Linked DNA regions of Homo sapiens: region 1 is linked to region 2. The links are contacts of gene promoters, found by promoter capture Hi-C in blood cells and fetal thymus (Javierre and others, 2016). All regions are on one chromosome and are shown on one strand. Each heading gives the region's core, a stretch centred on a gene start or on the middle of the fragment in contact. The rest is flanking DNA. Distances are from core to core; before and after follow the strand shown. Region 1 holds the start of AP1G1 (adaptor related protein complex 1 subunit gamma 1). Region 2 holds the start of GABARAPL2 (GABA type A receptor associated protein like 2).

Region 1 (3,215 bases), core at 1-2,500, 3.8 Mb after region 2:
CGCTCTGCCAGGAGCAGTCGCCTCCTCCTTGGCAAATAGTCCTCGGCAGGGTCCGAGTTCTTGGATAATTCGAGAGAAAAGGCACGATAAGTTGCAGTACGAGGACACGGAAACGACCAGGAGAGGAGGACAGGGAGCGAAGTTTCCTCAATAGTGTGTGAAGTTAGTTAAAAACTCCCTCCTTCCTCAGGATCCCTCCGCCTGCGGTAGCGGTGGTGAGGCCGAGGGAGCCGCCATTTTGGATGTTCGGTTCCTGCTGCCACTGCTGCCGCCGCCCCCGGAGCTGCTGGTTTCATTCGAGGTTTCGGGCCGGTGAGTGTCACTCCCGGCGCTGAGAGCATATTGCTGCTTTTGCCCCGCCGCTGCCGCGGGCGCTCGACCGGAAGCTTCCTTTCAGTTTCAGGGGTCCAGTCCCAGGCTGTGGGTGTTGAGAAGAGAAGACAGAGAAGCTGGGCCAGGAGAGGCCGGGAGCCCCAGGGGCTGCTCCGACTTCTGGAGGGCCGACCCCGAGGCCTCGGACCGGGAGGTTCCGCGCGCCGCGGCGTTCCGTGTTGTGGCGTTGCCCCGCCGGTACGGGCCTCCTTGAACCCTTGACTTTCTCAGGCTGCGATCTTTGAGGGCTCATTCAGGGAGCCTGGGGTTTAGCGGGGCGGGCCCCACCCCCGCGTGTCTTCTCTGAGCCACGTATCAGCGTTCTTGTGTCTTGTACCCGTGTCAGGTCTGTCAGATAACTCCCAGCATATCCAAATGCCCAGTTAATCGCTGCCTGCCCCTGCAGTGCCGTCCTCTCGGAACCGGACATCGGCCTCGCCTCTCTCTAACCTTCCGACCAACTTCTTTCCCAATTTTTCGTGTGTGTGTGTATATGTTGTTGTTTTGTTTTTTTCAACCTACCTGCGAGTATACTGTTTACCCTTTTCTCAGCTCCTGGCCCTGCGGACGTCAGCGTCTAATAATTCTCCCGGTCTTCCTGATTGCCTGAAAGAGTCGGGACGGTTCGGTTGATTGTGTTTCCCGGTTAGGACTCGGTGTAGGAGATCCATCGAACCACTCGCTCAGGGTAATGTTTATGAAGCAGATTATGTTTATGAAGCAGATTAAATGGCTTTTGGGAGGCAAGAGCTGTCAAATGTTTTCTCATATGTGGATTCCCTCCCTGTGCTGAATACTTAGCTTTTTGGTGCTTACTGACACTTGTGTGGTATTTTTTTTTCTCCCCTATTATATATCCCTGAGCACGGAAATCTGTCCATGGAGAAAAATATTAATCTGAGGTAGGTAGAAAGGAGAGTTGGGCTGCTTTACAGTGATTAGTTAACAGAAGGGAGGAGTTAGTGCTTTCTTAGTGACCTTAACTTTGAAGTGTTTGTACAGTAATGATCTTTGCTGACTGATTCTAAAAAATACTTGTAATGATTTCATGTATTGGGTTTTTCTGGGGATAGCTGAATTTTAAATATTCACTTCCACCGTTCCCTAGAATACTTGTCAAATACCTAACTTGTCACACACCCTAACTTTCACGTTTGAAAAATATGAACCCTCTAAGTACTCGTAATCTCGTCACTTTTATTCTAAAGGCATGTTTGCAGTCTAGCATGCTTGAATAAAAAGTATGTCTTTATTTTTATTTATTTATTTTTTGAGACGAAGTCTCCCTCTGTCTCCAGGCTGGAGTGCAGTGGCACGGTCTCGGCTCACTGCAACCTACGCCTCCCGGGTTCAAGCAGTTCTCCTGCCTCAGCCTCCCAAGTAGCTGGGACTACAGGCACACGCCGCCACGCCCGGCTAATTTTTTGTTGTTGTATTTTAGTAGAGATGGGGTTTCATCATGTTGCCCAGGCAGATCTCGAACTCCTGAGCTCAGGTAATCCGCCCGCCTCGGCCTCCCAAAGTGCTAGGATTACAGGCGTGAGCCACCGTGCCTGGCAAAAAGTATTTCACAGTTATTCACTGATACATTTCCTACGTTTCAAGTTAGGCGAGTGTGATTGAATCACCCTTATTTCATCTCAGCCTGGGTTTTCACATCTGCAAAAGAGAAATTAACTTATTTGAGATCACAGTCTAGTGGTTGAAGTTTAAATTTATAACTTGAATTGAGTCAAGCTTTTTAATATTGCTAAGCCACTTATAGATGCATTATTATTATCAGGTTATTGAAATGAGATTGTAGATAAATTCCTCTATAGGTCATATGATGTCTCAGAAGAAAACAATATTTTCAGTTTAAATACTCAGTGATCTTGTTATTTAAGCAGATTTTTCAAAAATATATTAGTTACTATTAGATACGTGAGTTCTGTATTACCCTGAAGCAATGGAATTTTCTCTTTTGGTTTAAAGGAACTGTCAAACACTGAACACCTATGTAATGCTCACTCATTTAGTAAGTATGCCCTCGCAGTTACTACTGAAATGTTCCATTTCTGACTTAGACTTTTCAAGTAAGGTGTTAGAAGAGCTATCACATAGATGTTAGTTAACTCAGTGTTTTTCATGCTTTAATATATTGGTATTTAAATGTCATTCAGGCGGGCGCTCAGTGGCTCATGCTTGTAATCCCAACACTTTGGGAGGTGGAAGGTGGATCCCTTGAGCCCAGGAGTTGGAGGCCAGCCTGGGCAACCTAATGAGACTCCGTCTCTACCAAAATATTTAAAAATATTAAACTTTTAAAAATTCATTCTTAGATAGTTTGCATTCACTGTAGAAAGGGTCCTTTTGCCTTAACAAATTCCTAGCAAAGTGTTGTTTAGTGCACCATTGATCAGTGCATATTTGAATGTCTGCTTTGCGTTTAGGAAACCTCCGTTTTCTTTTGGGGGCAGTTGCTTGTTCTTTGGTCTGACCTCTGTCATTGATAGCAGTTCTAGATTTGAGGGCAGATTTTAGAGTGAAACTTTAAAGTACAGAATTTGCCAGGAATGCCTTGGTGATATTTCACCCCAGTGTTTATTTAAAAAAGGAGTTTTAAAAATCAGTGGTATGCAAACAAAACCAACTTCTTTATGATTTATAAAAACTCTTTTTTTTTTTTTTTATTATTTTTATTGTTTGAGACAGGGTCTCACTCTGTTGCCCAGGCTGGAGTGCAGTGGTCTCAGCTCACTGCAGCCTGGACCTCCTGGACTCAAGCGATCCTCCTGCCTCAGCCCTCCACGTAGCTGGGACTACAGGCGTGTGCTACCACGCAGGGCTAATTTTTGTATTTT
Region 2 (3,258 bases), core at 265-2,764:
ACCACACGCTCTGGAGGTTAAGAATTGATATAAATGTGTTACAGGGAAACAGTAAGTGCTTTTCTGTGGTCAATTATGTAAGAGAAATGCAGCCCTTACCACTAAGCTTTTCCACATTTTATCTGGGCAGACCTAAGAATATCTGGGGAGGGTTTCATCCATGGCCCGTTACTCCAGGACCCCAGAATGGATCCACCTTCACACTACAGGAAACACTACTGTGTTCCCAAGGAACACAGGAGACAAGAATGGATGGACTAATTGGAATGCCTGGAATTTTAGCCAGCCAAGAACCAAGTTCTTCATTTGGCCTGTTGCTCCTCTCTGAACAAGTTTCAAATCCGTCCCTCCTACTCCTTTCCCCAGACAAATTATTCACAAGCAAAGAGCTACAATAACAGGCCTTAATGTCCATTAAAAATTAATAACGATTACAAAACTATCTCCCCAACCATGGAAGAAATATAACATTATATTTATTATTGACTAAGAAGAAAATATGGCAGAAGGGGTTTTCAGCGGCTTTTCACATTATTTTGGTCAGGCAAGGATGACAGGGTCAAGGTGAGATAACGGAGCTAGAAGTTAGGTAAAGATGGAGACAAAGTAAAAGATGAACGTCCTGAGACTCAAGTACCACTTCCAAGACCAAAATGACAGTCTCCCTCCACCACCATTCCCAAAAGTGGCAGTGACCTGTTGCCCTGTCCTAGAACATCGTTCCTTACATAATTGGCCAGGGAGCCCCGAGGCTGCAGACGGCTCGCTGGCCTAGATCGGGAGATTCAGCACTGAGGCACCCTGAACAGCACCAGCCCGAGCCCCTCACGCCCCGGCCCTGGGCGGCCTCATCCCGGTCTGGCCCGTCAGCTACTGTAACTGGGACTGGAACCTCAACTTGTCAACTGTTGAATGGCCTGGGGCCTATCACGGGTCCCAGACGACAGAGGTGACAGCGAGGTGAGGGGGCGGAGAGTCCACTCACCGGAACCCTGTCGGGATATTTCGCTCGAATCTTCGCGGACTCCACGCATCTGTGTTCTGTGGGAGAAACAAACGGGGCTGACGGCCGCGCCTGCCCACCGGTCGGTTCCCGGCCCCCGGCCCTCCTCCTCCTGCGCCCTGCGTACAACCCAGGCCCTGGTTCCGGCGTCCCCGGGGCCGCGGTCCTGTCCCCTACTAGCTCCCAGCAAGGCCCGCGGAGGGTGACATGGGGTCAGGGGGCCGCTGCCCGAGGCACCAGGGCATGGGCGACTCCAGCCCGCAGCAGGGCATCCGCCCCGCTCCACTCGGCCCAGGGCCGCCCGAGTGGGGGAGGGGGCCCACCCGCCGCCCCAGCCCCCAGCAGCCGGGCCGACGACCAAGTGCTTACCCAGCGAGTGGTCCTCCTTGAACATCCACTTCATGGCGGCGGCGGGAAGGGGACGGAACCGGCTCGCGGAGCCGCGGAGCTCAGCGCACCGAGCACAACAACAACGACGGCGGCAGCGGCAGCGGCAGCGACGGCGGCGACTACACGGCAGGCGGGACTTCCGGCTGTCGGAGCCTAGCAACCGGCCGGGGGCGGGGCTTCCGGCGCCATTTGTCAGGGCGCCACGCCAAGGGGCGGGGCCGCACGTAAAGGGGCGGGGCCGCGGAGGACCCCTTTGGGGGCTCCTGGGCTGCGGTGGCGAAGAAGTTGGTTATGGGGACGTCTGTGAGCAGTATCTGCGACATTGCTCGCAGGAATGTTCGGGGAACTGGTGACAGGAGTGGGGTCTCGGGAGCGTTGGTGGCGGAAAACGTCTGGCTGATAGTGTAGGGCTCTTACTGAGGGCTGTTTGGGGGTGTGGCTGATAGCTGAGGGCTCTTAGAGCGGTTCATAGGGGAAGTCTGGGGAATTGGTGACAAGAACGGTCTTTAGGGGTAAGAATGACATAAGGAGGGCTTTCTAGAGCTTGGCGATAACAAGGGAGCTGTTTAGGGCGTTGACAGTTTGGGGAGTATTGCTCGGAGTGGTGACAGGTTGGGGGCTCATTATGGGAGGGGAGGGTGTTTGAGGACACTGTTGGAAGCGGCACTGAGGACAACCCGGAGGTCCGTATTAGGGACAGCCGTAGTAGGTTGTCTTGGACCTAGAAATTGAATTTAAACAAATCCCGTTTTCTTCCTTTATTCGTGAATAAATATTTGAATAAACATTTACGAAAAGGTATCACAAATGCACATTTGAGGCGGGGTACGGTGGCTCACGCCTGTAATCCCAACACTTTGGGAGGCCGACGCGGGTGGATCACCTGAGGTCAGGAGTTGAAGACCAGCCTGGCCAACATGGTGAAACCCCGTCTCTACTAAAAATACAAAAATTAGCCAGGCATGGTAGTGGGCGCCTGTAGTCCCAGCTCCTCGGGAGGCTGAGGCAGGAGAATCGTTTGAACCAGGGAGGTGGAGGTGGCAGTGAGCCGAGATCACACCACTGCACTCCAGCCTGGGCAACAGAGCAAGACTCCGCCTCAAAAAAAAATGCACATTTGAGGAGTGTAACATCACTGATCACAGACCCCTTAATTTTAACTGGCAGAGGAGTTAGAGGTGACTGTCAGACTCGGAGAATTCCCCTGAGAGCTGGTCATGAGATGGGTTTCCTTATTTGGCTGTGGGAGTGGTTTAGCAATCACAGCCTGAGCTGTGTGTGTGTCACCTGCCCGGACATATGCTTTGAGGTTCTCCAATCAGTGATGTAATGCCTTTTTTCCAAGCAGACTCATCAAGGCAGTCTGGTCTGGGTCACCATCTGTTTATAAGCTGCTGAACATGTAGCAGGAATATTCACTTAATTGGGCACATGAACCCTGCCACGTGCTTGTGATTCTGATGCACCTGTAAAGCCTGTATGTTTGAATGTGGTAGTTCATCATTTCCTACACTGGAAATTCCTGATCGATGCTGTGGAATCTAGCTTCATTCTATAAGTATTTTTGTTATTTTAAGACTGTGTGTCTGAGTAACTAGAATAGGTTTTTTTGTTTCTTTGTTTTTGTTTTTGTTTTTTGGAGACAGGGTCTTTCTCTGTCACCCAGGCTGGAGTTCAGTGGCACAATCTTGGCTTACTGCAGTCTGCCTCCTGGGTTCAAGCGATTCTGCTGCCTCAGCCTCCTGAGTAGCTGGGACTACAGGGACACACCACCACACCCAGCTAATTTTTGTATTTTTGGTAGAGATGGGGTTTTGTCATGTTCGCCAGGCTGGTCTTGAACTTCTCACCTCAAGTAAGTGATT

Evidence for each region. Contacts are between HindIII fragments. The CHiCAGO score rates a contact against its expected background, and 5 or more counts as called.
Region 1: a fragment that was not itself captured here is called in contact with the fragment with the promoter of GABARAPL2 in region 2 in 1 of 17 cell types (non-activated CD4 T cells); the score reaches 5.4 in non-activated CD4 T cells.

Annotation. Positions count from the first base shown.
Region 1 is chr16:71,805,860-71,809,074 of GRCh38, reverse strand. AP1G1 (adaptor related protein complex 1 subunit gamma 1) reads left to right here and starts at 241. Exons shown (of 23, transcript NM_001128.6): 1 at 241-312. LOC124903714 (a long non-coding RNA gene) reads right to left here and starts at 117. Exons shown (of 2, transcript XR_007065110.1): 1 at 1-117. RefSeq lists enhancers at 1-519, 463-1,110. The HindIII fragment of the contact is 1,723 bases long and covers 389-2,111 here.
Region 2 is chr16:75,564,635-75,567,892 of GRCh38, reverse strand. GABARAPL2 (GABA type A receptor associated protein like 2) reads right to left here and starts at 1,514. Exons shown (of 4, transcript NM_007285.7): 1 at 1,373-1,514; 2 at 986-1,041. The coding sequence starts at 1,406. RefSeq lists an enhancer at 299-1,052 and a silencer at 1,042-1,451. The HindIII fragment of the contact is 5,212 bases long and covers 109-3,258 here.